2 separate regions of the Homo sapiens genome follow, and region 1 is linked to region 2. Evidence: promoter capture Hi-C in 16 types of primary human blood cells and fetal thymus (Javierre and others, 2016). All regions are on one chromosome and are shown on one strand. Each heading gives the region's core, a stretch centred on a gene start or on the middle of the fragment in contact. The rest is flanking DNA. Distances are from core to core; before and after follow the strand shown. Region 1 has its middle 44 kb from the start of TEX2. Region 2 holds the start of SMURF2 (SMAD specific E3 ubiquitin protein ligase 2).

Evidence for each region. Contacts are between HindIII fragments. The CHiCAGO score rates a contact against its expected background, and 5 or more counts as called.
Region 1: a contact is called between a fragment that was not itself captured here and the fragment with the promoter of SMURF2 in region 2, in 1 of 17 cell types (total CD4 T cells). The highest score is 5.4, in total CD4 T cells.

The regions. Positions count from the first base shown.
Region 1 is chr17:64,304,054-64,310,905 of GRCh38, forward strand. It overlaps the pseudogene RPL31P57. Among named protein-coding and RNA genes, the nearest start is that of TEX2, 44 kb to the left of the region's middle. The HindIII fragment of the contact is 4,234 bases long and covers 1,215-5,448 here.
Region 2 is chr17:64,658,448-64,664,941 of GRCh38, forward strand. It overlaps SMURF2 (SMAD specific E3 ubiquitin protein ligase 2), which reads right to left and starts at 3,860. Exons shown (of 19, transcript NM_022739.4): 1 at 3,382-3,860. The coding sequence starts at 3,433. RefSeq lists silencers at 3,354-3,553, 3,604-4,003 and an enhancer at 4,154-4,712. The HindIII fragment of the contact is 18,568 bases long and covers 1-6,494 here.

The DNA of each region.
Region 1 (6,852 bases), core at 2,082-4,581, 350 kb before region 2:
AAGTGATCCTCCCATCTCAGCCTCCCAAGTAGCTGGGACCACAGGCACCTACCACCATGCCCAGCTAATTTTTGTATTTTTCGTAGAGACAAAATTTTGCCATGTTGCCCAGGCTGGTCTCAAACTCCTGAGCTCAAGCAATCCACCCACCTCGGCCTCCCAAAGTGCTGGGATTACAGGTGTAAGCCACCTTTTTTTTTTTTTTCTTAAAAAAAAAATCTTTTGCTGGGCACGGTGGCTCACGCCTGTAATCCCAGCACTTTGGGAGGCTGAGGCGGGTGAATCACCTGAAGTCGGGAGTTCGAGACCAGCCTGGTCAACATGGTGAAACCTCGTCTCTACTAAAAATACAAAAATTAGCCAGGCTTGGTGGCTCAAGCCTGTAATCCTAGCTACTCGGGAGGCTGAGGCAGGGGAACCATTTGAACCCAGGAGGCGGAGGTTGCAGTGAGCCGAAATCGTGCCACTGCACTCCAGCCTGTGTGACAGTGCGAGACTCCTTCTCAAAAAAAAAAAAAAAGAAAAAAAATTACCTTTTATTTGAGACAGGGTCTTGAACTCCTGGGCTCAGTGATTGTCCTGCCTCAGCCTCCCAAGCATCTGGGATTATAGGCAAATGCCAGCACACCCGGCCCTTTCTGTTTTTAAACAGGTGTCTGATTTCCCACCTCCATTCCTTCCACAGCCCAGAGAGGTAGGACATCAACTCTTCAGTTTTCTATCTACTCACAGGTTTGATCTTTAACCTCTCAAGAACAATAAGCCAGAGAAACAGAGATAAGCGTTGAGTTGGGATTCAAGTTTACTTCAGCTGTTTCTGCCTGATCCACACATCCTAGGGCTCCTTCTTAAGTAGTTCCTTGCAACTTAAAGTGTATCCAAAAGTGATACTCCCTTCTTTTTTTTTGAGACTGAGTCTTGCTCTGTCGCCCAGGCTGGAGTGCAGTGGTGTGATCTCGGCTCACTGCAACCTCCGCCTCCTGGGTTCAAGCGATTCTCATGCCTCAGCCTCTTGAGTAGCTGGGATTACAGGTGCCCACCACCATACTCTGCTAATTTTTGTATTTTTAGTAGAGATGGGGTTTCACCATGTTGGCCAGGCTGGTCTCCAACTCCTGACCTTAGGTAATCCGCCTGCCTCAGCCTCCCAAAGTGTTGGGATCACAGGTGTGAGCCACTGTGCCCGCCTCCTTTTTTTAATTTTGAAAATTTCAAGCTTTCAGAAAAGTTACAAGAAATAGTACAATGAACACTTGTATATCCTTCACCTAGATTCATTTGTTGCTAGCATTTTGCCCATTTGCTTTATCTCTCCTCCTCTGTGTTTGTACACACACACATACACACACACACGCAAACATTTTTTAAAAATTATTTTAATTTTTGGCTGGGTGTGGTGGCTCATGGCTATAATTCCAACACTTTGGGAGCCCAAGGTAGGCAGATCACTTGAGGCCAGGAGTTCGAGACCAGCCTGGGCAGCCTGGGCGAAACCCTGTCTCTATAAAAAATACAAAAAGTAGCCAGGCATGGTGGTATGTGCCTGTGGACCCGCTACTCAGGAGGCTGAGGTGGGAGTATCACTTGAGCCAGGGAGGTTGAAATTGCAGTGAGCCAAGATCTCACCACTGTGCTCCAGCCTGGGCAACAGAGTGAGATCCTGTCTCAAAAAAATTATTCTGGCCAGCCACGATGGCTCACGCCTATAATCCCAGCACTTTGGGAGGCCGAGGCAGGTGGATCACTTGAGGTCAGGAGTTCAAGACCAGCCTGACCAACACGGTGAAACCCCGTCTCTACTAAAAATACAAATTTAGCCAGGCATGGTGGTGCGCGCCTGTAATCCCAGCTACTCGGGAGGCTGAGGCAGGAGAATTGCTTGAACCCAGGAGGCGGACGTTGCAGTGAGCCGAGAACACACCACTGCACTCCAGCCTGGGCAACAGAGTGAGACTTCCTCTCAAAAAAAAAAATTATTTCAATGTTTGCTAAATATTTTGAAAGTTAGTTGCAGGCATCATATTTCTAATATTACTTCACCATGTATCCCCTAAGAATGAGGACATTCTATATAATTACAGTATATTACCATGCTTGAGAAATTTAACATTAGGCTAAGCACAGTGGCTCATGCCTGTAATCCCAGCACTATGGGAGGCTGAGGCAGGTGGATCACTTGAACCCAGGAGTTTGAGACCAGCCTGGGCAATATGGCGAAATTTTGTCTGTACAAAACTTACAAAAAATTAGCCAGACATGGTGACGCACACCTGTGGTCCCAGCTACTCGGAGGCTGAGGTGGAAAGATTGCTTGAGCCCAGGAGGTTGAGGCTGCGGTGAGCCACCATCATGCCACTGCACTCCAGCCTGGATGACAGAGCAAGACACTGTTTCAAAAAAAAAGAAAGAAAGAAATTTAACATTAATACTATATTGTGATATATATTCCATATTCAATTTTCCCAATTGGCCCAATTATGTACTTGACTAGCTTTTTTTTTTTTTTTTTTTTTGAGATGGAGTCTCGCTCTGTTGCCCAGGCTAGAGTGCAGTGGCACGATCTTGGCTCACTGCAATCTCTGCCTCCTGGGTTCAAGCAATTCTCCTGCCTTAGTCTCCCGAGTAGCTGGGATTACAGGCGCCTGTCACCATGCCTGGCTAATTTTTGTATTTTTAATAGAGACAGGGTTTCACCATGTTGGTCAGACTGGTCTCAAACTCCTGACCTCAGGTGATCCACCCACCTTGGCCTCCCAAAGTGCTGGGATTACAGACATGAGCCACCGTGCCTGCCCTTGAATAGCTTTTTGAACAGATTGCATTTAGCGGTTCAGACCCTTTGGTCTCTTTTAATCTAGAGCAGTTTTTCAGACCATTTTGATCTTTTCTGACATGGATATTTTTGAAAAGTCCAAGCCAATTGTGTTAAAACTATAATTACTTTATGCTATTTGAATTCTACACGTGATCTTGGTCCTAGAGTGTAAATTTTATCTGTGCTGCCACCAGGTGGCGCACTTGGTAGGTCCTGGTCCTCAAAAACCCTTGTGAAAGGGCAACTTAAGGCAAGAAAACTCGTTTTGTCTCAATCAACTAAGGCTGTTATTTGGTAAAGCATATGATGTTGGCAGTGCCCATATATTTATAAAGGCACGTGGTGTCTTTTCCATAATCTGGGGATCTTGCTAATTAGGATTATAGTTTCGTAGACCTGTAATGGGTCCCAAGATTCTTTCTTTTTTTTTTTTTTTGAGACAGGGTCTCACTCTGCCAGCCAGGCTGGAGTGCTGTGGCGTGATCACGGCTGACTGCAGCCTCAAACTCCTGCGCTCAAGCGATCCTCCCACCTCAGCCTCCCAAAGTGCTGGTATTACAGGCATGAGCCGTTGTCCTGGCCAAGGTTCTGCATTTCTAACAATGGCCAAGTGATTGTGATGCTGCTGATTTGAAGAGCACGCTTTGAGTAGCAGGGGTTTAGAACAAGCCTATGAAGAACTATAATCTATTTACAATTAGTGGCTTCTGTTCTTGAGACAAAATCTCACTCTGTTGCCCAGGCTGGAGTGCAGTGGAGCCATCACGGCTCACTGCAGCCTTGACCCCTGAGGCTCAGGTGATCCCCCTGCTTCAGCCTCCTGAGTAGCTGGGATCACAAGCATGCACCACTCCACCTGGCTAATTTAAAACATTTTTTTGGAGACAGGATCTCTGTATGTTCCCCAGGCTGGTCTCGAACTCCTGGGCTCAAGGGATCCTCCCATCTTGCCCTCCCAAAGCGCCTTGACCTCCCAAAGTGCTGGGATTACAGGCATGAGCCATCATGCCTGGCCACTATTATATATATATATATATATATATATATATATATATATATATATATATATATATATATTTAAACAATTTTGGCCCCCACAGTGGCTCATGCCTCTAATCCCAGCGCTTTAGGAGGTCAAGGCGGACAGATCACTTGAGGTCAGGAGTTTGAGGCCAGCCTGGCCAACGTGCTGAAACCCCATCTGTACTAAAGATACCAAAATTAGCTGGGCATGGTGGTGCATGCCTGCAGTCCCAGCTACAAGGGAGGCTGAGGTAGGAGAATTGCTTGAACCCGGGAGGTGGGGGTTGCAGTGAGCCAAAATCACGCCACTGTGGTCCAGCCTGGGTGACAGAGCAAGATTCTATCCCACCCCCCCAAAAAACAAACAAACAAACAAACAAAAAACAATTTTATAACTTTATTTGGTATATTTGATGATTAGCAGTTAGTTCACATTCACACCGACTGTAGATTTTTTTAAAGTGGTAACAGGTACGTAGGCAACCGAAGTATAGAGCTTGTTTGGTAAATCTTTATCTTCATTACATTTTCTGGACAACCGAACATGGATACAGTATGAGACGTTGCTTATTCCTTTGGCCCAGACAGCTTTGTTGAGCCTGGTATCAAAGTGTGCATCTGGAGTTCCCATCTCCTTCAGGGCAAGTTTCCGGAGCTCTTTGAGTGCCTGAGGGGAACGCTTCTTGAAGCCCACTCCATGAATGCACTTATGAATGTTGATGGGGTATTCTCGGGTCACCATCTCGTTGATGGCGGAATGACCCTTCTTCTTCTCATCACCCTTCTTTGCAGGAGCCATTCTGCCGGGCCCAAGTTGGAAAGGAAATTGGCCACTATTCTTACATCATAATCAGTAGTAAAGCTAGTCTCATCTTCCACTACTTCCCCTCTTCCTCCCTCTACTCCAGCCCCTTGGCCTTGCTTCTTTCCCAGAGGGCCTCGACCCTAGCTTTCCCTTCTGCCTCGCATGCCATTCCCCCAGATATCCTTCTGCTTGACTAATTTCCTTGTCTCCTGCAAGTTCTTAGCTCAAACCTTTCTTTTTTGTTTGTGTTTTGTTTTTGAAACAGGGTCTTGCTCTGTCACCCAGGCTGGCATACAATGGCGTGATCATGGCTCACTATAGCCTCAACCTCCTGGGCTCAATTGATCCTCCCAAGTCTCCATAGTAGCTGGGACTACAGGCATGCATCACCATGCCCAGCTAATTTTTGTATTTTTTGTGGAGACGGGGTTTTGCCATGTTGCCCAGGCTGGTTTCAAACTCCTGAGCTGAAGTGATCCACCCACCTTGGCCTGTCAAAGTGAAAATTCACTTTCTTGATGAGGCTCACCCAGACATCCTTATTAAACACTGCTGCCTCCCCCACCCCCTCACACCCTCCCTTAACTTGCTTGATTCTTTGTTTCCTCCAGCCTTCTCCACCTTCTCACATATCATATAATCTACCTCCTGCGTTTATTGTTCATTTCTGTCTCCCCCTGCTAGAATCTAACTTCCATGAGGGAAGGGATCTTTGTCTGTCTATTGTCTTCACTGATATTTTCTGAGCACTTAGAACAGTGTCTGCACATAGTAGGTGCATATGAAATATTTGCTGAATGAATGAAGCTTAAAAGGACCTTCAAGATAACAGAGTCCAATCCCCTCATTTCATTGATGAAGAAAGGAGCCCTAGGTCTCTGGGCAAGACGAAGATTTGCCCAGGGTCACATAGACTGTGGGAATATTCTTCTTATTCTTCTAAATGAATACAATCTAAAAGCCGGACTGGTTTCTATCAGTTAATTTTCTAAGCTCTAATTTTATTTTATTTTTTAATTTGTGTTAGGTATTTTCCCCAAAGGATCTGAAGCAGTGGACAAGATGAGAGGTAATATAGAATGGAACAGTTAGGAGTCCAAATGGAAGAGATATCATCTAAAGGAAGAGGGAGTCAGCCTAACAGGCACTAGATCATAGTTAATTACTCTAATGGGGGCAGAATTTGGCTCTGAGTCCTCTGGCAGCTGAGGTTAAACGGGAAGCACGTGGGACTCCATAACGTTCCTTGTCTGAGCTAAGGAAGACTGAGTGCTCCGCAGGGACTCACATCCAGGAGGAACCTGGTCCTGGAGAACCCTGTGTAATATCCCTTTGGCCTCACATTGGACAATGTTTACCAAAAAAACCCAAAGTCATGGTTGAAGAACATTGTTGTTTTATCTGCAAAGACTAAGGGTATAATATTAAATCACATTATAGGCTGGGCATGGTGGCTCATGCCTGTAATCTCAGCACTTTGGGAGGCCAAGGCAGGTGGATCACTTGAGGCCAGGAATTCGAGACCAGCCTGGCCAACATGGTGAAACCCTGTCTCTGCTAAAATTACAAAAATTAGCCAGGCCTGGTGGCATGAGTCTGTGATCCCAGCTACCTGGGAGGCTGAGGCATGAGAATCGCTTGAACCCAGGAGGTGGACGTTGCAATGAGCCAAGATCACACCACTGAACTCTAGCCTGGGTGACAGAACGAGACCCTGTCTCAAAACAAACAAACAAACAAACAGAAAAACACATTATAGTTCTTATGGTTCAGGTGAATTATATTGTGATGATCCAACTGAAAATGAAGATGAAAACTAAAGAATCTAGAATAAACATGTCTAGGAATATCTTCTGTAATTATCCACCAACGTCTCAAATCTTTGACAAACATTAAACCACAGGCAACTCATGGTTTGGATTTGTTGAATACATCAACAAATGTTTATTGAGTTTCTACTATAAACCTTCTCCTCTTTCCTTTGCTGACTCTCTGCCTGGAACTCCCCAGGCCCAGCTATCTCTAAGGCAGAGGGGAAGAGCACAGAGACCAGAGGGGAAGCCAGCTCTGTTTCTTCAAGTTACATAAAGTCTTTTTTGTGTTTCTGAGATAGAGTCTCGCTCTGTCACCCAGGCTGGAGTGCAGTGGCGTCTCTCGGCTCACTGCAACCTCCGCCTCCCGGGTTCAAGCGATTCTCCCCCCTCAGCCT
Region 2 (6,494 bases), core at 2,610-5,109:
TATGTAGTGAAACAAGATTAAGACGCTAGCATATCTAAAGGGAAATTTTTAAAGTTAAACTTCCTTACATTATAGACAAGGTTAACCTCCTTATTGCCAAGGGCTTTGAAATTAATAACATGAGAAGCAGCATACAAAAACATTAAATGTATAAAAAGGTCTGAAACAAATGTTCTGGAGGAGTAATCTTATTCTGCTTCTCCATACCTAAGAATTTAAAATATTAGAAATTACACTAAACTGCTTTTTCCAGCCTTTGGTTTTCAGAAACAATAATGGTATAAAAAATTATCCCAAAGTTTTTACTGTAAAGAATATTTTTCTATCCAAACCATTGAAAGAAAAGCCTGTATCAGATATAAGTATAATGATATAGACATTATACATTTTGTAATCAATGTTATAGAAACAGTAGTTGAAGTTGATAGTGTTACCATACAGCCCATTTCAATGATCATATGTTAATGTGTCATAAAGAACAGAAGTAGCTTGATGGATGAAATCAGATTCTAACCCCCAACTGCCTGAGGAATCTAAAATTTGGGATCAAATTATTAAATTAGCCCCACCTTCTTAGCATTGACAAATACCAAACAGTTCACTGATTGTGGTTTTAAGAATAATATGTGGAAAGGTTTAATATCAATTGTGGGCAGAGATCTCATGGCTTAAATATTTCCTCTTCTTCAGAGAGAGTGTGTATGAGTGTGTGAGTGTGTGTGTGTGAGTGTGTGCATCACCATGTAAGAAATGTTTATACCTTTCAGCAAAGGGGCAATTCCACAATAAAGTTATTATCAAGTAACTAAAGTTTATACAGCATCTTGAAATCAAAGGTACTCTATAAATTTAAAATACTAATATGGTATTAACTTAAAGCAAAGAACAATAATTTTAAAACACCTTATAGCCCAAGTGTATTGTAAACCAAATATAAATTCACTGTGGGATCTGTCTTTTTTTAAGTGATTTTTTTTCCTCTATTAGGCAACCCAGATCTAAATGAACTGTTAAACACTTAGTCTAAAGGTATGCCAAACATTTCTTAAGGTCTTCACAAAGAATCAACTTTTTTTTTTTTTTTTTTTTTAAACAAAATGAGGCCTAGGTTAAATATTTTATTTGGCTTCTCAAGATGGACTGAGAAGTTGGGCACCAGCTCCAGACCAATTCCTGGACGCACATCAAACACAGCCCTGTCATTTATCCAGTCAGTCAAAACAATCTTTTCCATCTAACCCTTTAATGTTTATGTCCTAAAAAGCTGCTAATTGAATCCAGCTCTTGAGATCTATTTGCTAAAATCTATACCATCTAATTTATAAATGATGAACAAAAATGGAAGAAAAAATATGTTAACTTTCCTGGCAAAACAGAAGAGACTCCACTGTAACCAAAGAAGGAAGGACAATGTTTTTAATATTTGTCAAATTTTAAGAGAAAACTATTCAGAGACAAATAGTTGTAAGAAACTCAGAGTACCTCAAACTGTTTTTACTATTAAGAGGACACAGGGTATTTAAAATTCCTCAGAAAAACCTGAAACAAAATCACTATAAATGTAGTTCAATATTCCCCCTTCCCCTAAAATATAAGCATAATCTTTCCTCTTAATAAACTTTAATTATAAATTCTTATAATGTATCATAGGCAGTACGGAAACCACAGATAAACACTTTAAGATCTATTAAGTCATACTAAAAACCTCAACTAACCTTATCTGCAGAAAATCAAAAACCCAATTTTTTCCCTCATTTTCTCTACATAGCCCAGAGGAGGGTAAATGGAAACAGCCTATTTCTGATGCTTTCTGCACACCTGGGATCACATGTTCTTTCCACGATCACTGACTACAGACAGCAACAGCAACAGATAAACTCTAAAGCAACAAAGATCCCCTATAAAGGTTTCCACTGACTCCTCCCAATGTAAGGACACTGAATGAGGGGGGAGGGGGTGGAATACAAGTATCCTCCAATCCAGGTTTTCCATTAAGAATCACTCAGTTAATGATTCCCTGCAATTTTCCCTAGGGAAAGGAAAACTGCCATGAAAGTAATATATTATTTAAATTGCAGCCAACATACATTCAAGCTAAATTCTCAAATACCAAATTCACTGCAAGTTTTCATCCAGCAAGTTCAGCCAGTGGACTGGGATGTGACACACAGGCATTTAACTACAAAATTAGTCCAAATAAATCTCAAAGTCTAGTGTGGGCAAACATAATTACAGTTTATCCGTACACGTGCACGCACACACAAATCCTCTACGGAAAATTATCTTTCTCACCACTCACCCGAATACAAACGTGGACAATTTATCAGGGGTAAATGGTGAAGGTAGGATAACGCCGTGATTCCAATTCCTTTACAAACCAAATAAAAGTTCTCCTAAAACGGGGGTGGCATGTCCATGTAAGAATACCAAAAATGGCACTGTAAGCAAAACGTACCTGTAATGTTAAAGATTTCATGCACCTGGAATCATAAACACTTTGTAAGTGTAGTCTTCTATCTGGCAACCCCTCCGGACATTCTTTTCCATTTCGAAAAAGGAATGGGGAGGGTGGGGAGAGTAACAGAAAGTTTGCTCGAAAGTTTGTATGAGCACATACTTAGCAATGCACCCCCCCCAAAAAAGTGTGTTTTTAAAGCAGGTCTGGCGTTAGAAGTTAGACACAAGTTCTGCGGCCTAAAAGGAACAACCCCAAACATGCCACCCTACAATCAGACACTTCCAAAACACAGTGTACAATGAGCCCAAGCCGTCGGATCAGACAGGCACACCGGAAAAGTCAACCTGTCTCCTCACCTCAGAGACATGAGTTTAAGGTGTGTGGCCCGGGCAGCGGTGGCCGGCGGCGGGGAGTAAAGGTTTTTCATGCGGGCATAACTGGGTGTGTGCAAGGTAACAACCCGGGAACACACACGCACACCCTCCCGTTAAGCGCTCCATCTTTAAGGAGTGTTTACTGCGCGCAGTCAGCAACCGGATTCAATAATCCTCGCCACGGGAGCTCTTCATCCCCTTCACGATCTCACCTGGGCGGTAGCCCAGGGGCTGTTCCCCGAGCCCCGGGAGGCAGCGTCTGGCTCCTTGACCAAGACTTTCCGACCTGAAATCCGCCTGCGATGCGAACCGGTGTATTCTCCCCTCCACAAAACACCACCCCCCGCCCCGAGTCATCCTCGGCTTTTTAAACAATGTCCAAACCAGAGCAAGTGGTTTTCCAATTACTCTCCCTGAACTAGGCCTTCCCATTCCTCCGACCCCCAACTCATCATTGATCGCGACCCTGGCCCTTCCCAAGGCCACAGGCACCCCCCGCCAGCTCGCCCACCCCGCGGCTGCCCAGCCCGGCCCGCCGCCCCCCCTCACCTGTCAGGCGCAGCTTGACGGGCCCGTTCCTCCGGCCTCCGGGGTTAGACATGTCCCCGGCGGCGGGGGCGGCGGGGGCGGCGGGCGGCACGGGGGCGACGGCGAGGCGCGGCGGAGTCACCACAGCGGCCGGGGCTGGGGCCCGAGCAGCCGGCGCCTCGGCCGCCACGGCCGGAGGGTCCCGGATGTGCCGAGAGTCGTCGCCATGAGCCGCGGAGGGAGCGGGACGCCGAGCTCCCCCCTCCTCCCACTTCTCCTTCCTCGGCCCGGGCCGCACAACAAAGCGGCAGCCGCGGCCGCCCGCGCCGCCTCCGCCCGCGCCCCCGCCGCCTCCTCGCGGCCGCCGAGGCCTTTCCCTCCTCTCGTCTCGGCGAGGCCCAGTAGCCGACGGGGCTGGTCGGCTGAAGCGGGCGGTGCTCGGGGGCGCCGGAGCAGAACTCTGGGCTCGGCCGCTTCCTCCTCCACCCGCCCTCTTGTCTGAGGGACCCGGGACCTGGGGCCGCCGCCGCCACTCGTCGGCTCCGGGGGGCGGGGAGGAGACGGGAGGCGGGGCCGGCGGGGCGGGGCGGGGCCGGGGCGGGGCCGGCGGGCGCGCGCAGGGTGCCCTGGCGGGCACCGGCAGTCAGGGAGGGTGTGAGCTGCCGCCGAGGGTCCCACGCGGAACGCTGGGAGGGAGCAGGCAGGGAGCAAAGCGGCGGCGGGCGCGGCAGCTCTGTGGCACCTGGAGGGGTTTACTGTCCGGGCCACTTAAGGGAGAACTTTTGTCCAAGCAGGGCCAACTGCATTTTATTAGACGCCCACTGCGTGCAGGGCGCTCCGAGAGGCTGGGGCGAGGAAGGTTAGAACCGAGTCCGCTGCCTGCCGGGAACTTGGCGTCTTTCGGGCGAGGGAAGAGAAAGCATTCCCACGCCGATGGTTCCAGCAAAACCCCAGGAATGCTCTGCTCCTGGTCTTGTAGTTGACACCTCCATCCGGGACTCACCTGGTGGAGGAGATCAGGTTACCTGCCGACTCCCGCTCTTTTCAGGTGCAGCCAAGGATGGGGAGATGATACGTCTTAAAGGATTAACAAGATAAACCTTGGAGAGTAATGTATGAAGAGTTGTTCATACGCTACTGTATTTCGTTATCTCAGGAGGAGAAAGAGAAAAGTTTTTAAAAAATGTGTACCTTATCCTTTGACATTGTAACTGTACTGCTAGAAATTTATTTTTTATTTTTTTGTTTTTAGACAGGGTCTCCCTCTGTCGCCCAGGCTGGAGTGCAGTGGTGCGAACACGGCTCACTGCAGTCTCAACTTCCGGGGCTCAGGTGATCCTCCCACCTGAGCCTCTGGAGTAGCTGAGACCACAGTGTGCACCACTACGCCCCACTAATTTTTGTATTTTTAGTAGAGACATGTTTAGTAGAGACGTTTAGGTTTTCCCATGTTGCCCAGGCTGGTCACGAACTCCTGACCTCAAGCGATCAGCCCGCCTCGGCCTCCCAAAGTGCTGGGATTACAGACCTGAGCCACCGCACCGGCCCTATTCTTGACAAATAATCGTACAGAAGATGTTCTTTGCTATATTCCATTAATAACAAAAGGGGAATGAGGGAATAGCATAATAGTCCAGGAACCGCATGGTTTTTTATGCAGCCATGTAACTATTTTTATGAAGATCATATAATATGGAAGAATGTATATGTAATGCAAAGTTTAAAAACAGAATAGAAGTTGTATGCATATACATGCGAAAGTATCTAGCACAATGTAAACTACTAAGGACAATAGCGTGGGGGATTTTTTATGTGATTCGTTAGTTTTGCTTTAGGCTATTATAACATTAATGCAATTTTAAATGTTTTGGATTAATATATTTTAATCCTTATTCCATGCCAGTCATTTCTTTTAATACATCAGTGAACTCACTTCTCCAGATAGTTACCTGCGAGAACATTTCATCAGTTTGGATACAGCCCTACAATTAAAAGTAATCCAAAAAAGTATATGAAGTTCTAGACATCACACTAAAAATACCACAGATAGGCCGGGCACAGTGGCTCACGCCTGTAATTCCAACACTTTGGGAGGCCGAGGTGGGCGGATCATTTGAGGTCAGGAGTTTGAGACCAGCCTGGCCAACATGGTGAAACCCCGTCTGTACTAAAAAAAAATACAAAAAAATTAGCCGGGCCTGGTGGCGCATGCCTGTGGTCCCAGCAATTAGGGAGGCTGAGGCAAGAGAATCGCTTGAACACGGGAGGTTGCAGTGAGCCGAGATCACGCCACTGCACTTCAGCCTGGGTGACAGAGCGAGACTCCATATCAAAAATAAATACATAAATAAATAAAAATTAAAATACCAGAGATAGTGCCAGCAATTCATTCAACAAATATTAAGTGGCCATTTTGTGCAAAGCAATGAACAAGGTCCTTTAGAAATGCTTCCTTGTACTACAAATATATAGAAATCAATGTGAACAATAGCTGCTACCACAATTTAAGAGGGCAGACAGTGGCAAAAAACTTAGCAAACTAATGTACACATACACATTTGCCTTATTTTTACAGCACGCTTTGTTCCCAACCACCCAACTAACATAATTTGTAGCCTTGTATTAGGTAATAGAAGTTAGGATTTCAGAACGTCATGGGAGACCTGGGGGAGACTGCTTGTTTTGAAGTTGAAAGCAGTAAATTAAAAAATGTAAGTGACAGCATAGAAAAATGTATATAGGGTTAACGTGCAGAGGTTTGTATTTAGGCTTTCTTGTAAGGTTAAATCCTGTTGTTTAAAACAAATATTCAGATAAGAATAACACTAAAACCATTCAAGGGCTGGGCATGGTGACTCATGCCTGTAATCCTAGCACTTTGGGAGGCCGAGGCAGAGGAGTCACTTGAGCCCAGGAGTTTGAAACCAGCCTGGGCAACATGGCAAAACCCCGTATCTACAAAACATTAGCCAGGAGTGGTGGCCTGCACCTATAGGCCCAGCTACTCAGGAGGCTGAGATAGGATCACCTGAGCCTGTGGAGGTCAAGGTTGCAGTGAGCCGTGATCACACCACTGCATTCCAGTGCCACTGCATTCCATCCTGGGCAGCATACTGAGACTATCACAAAAATAA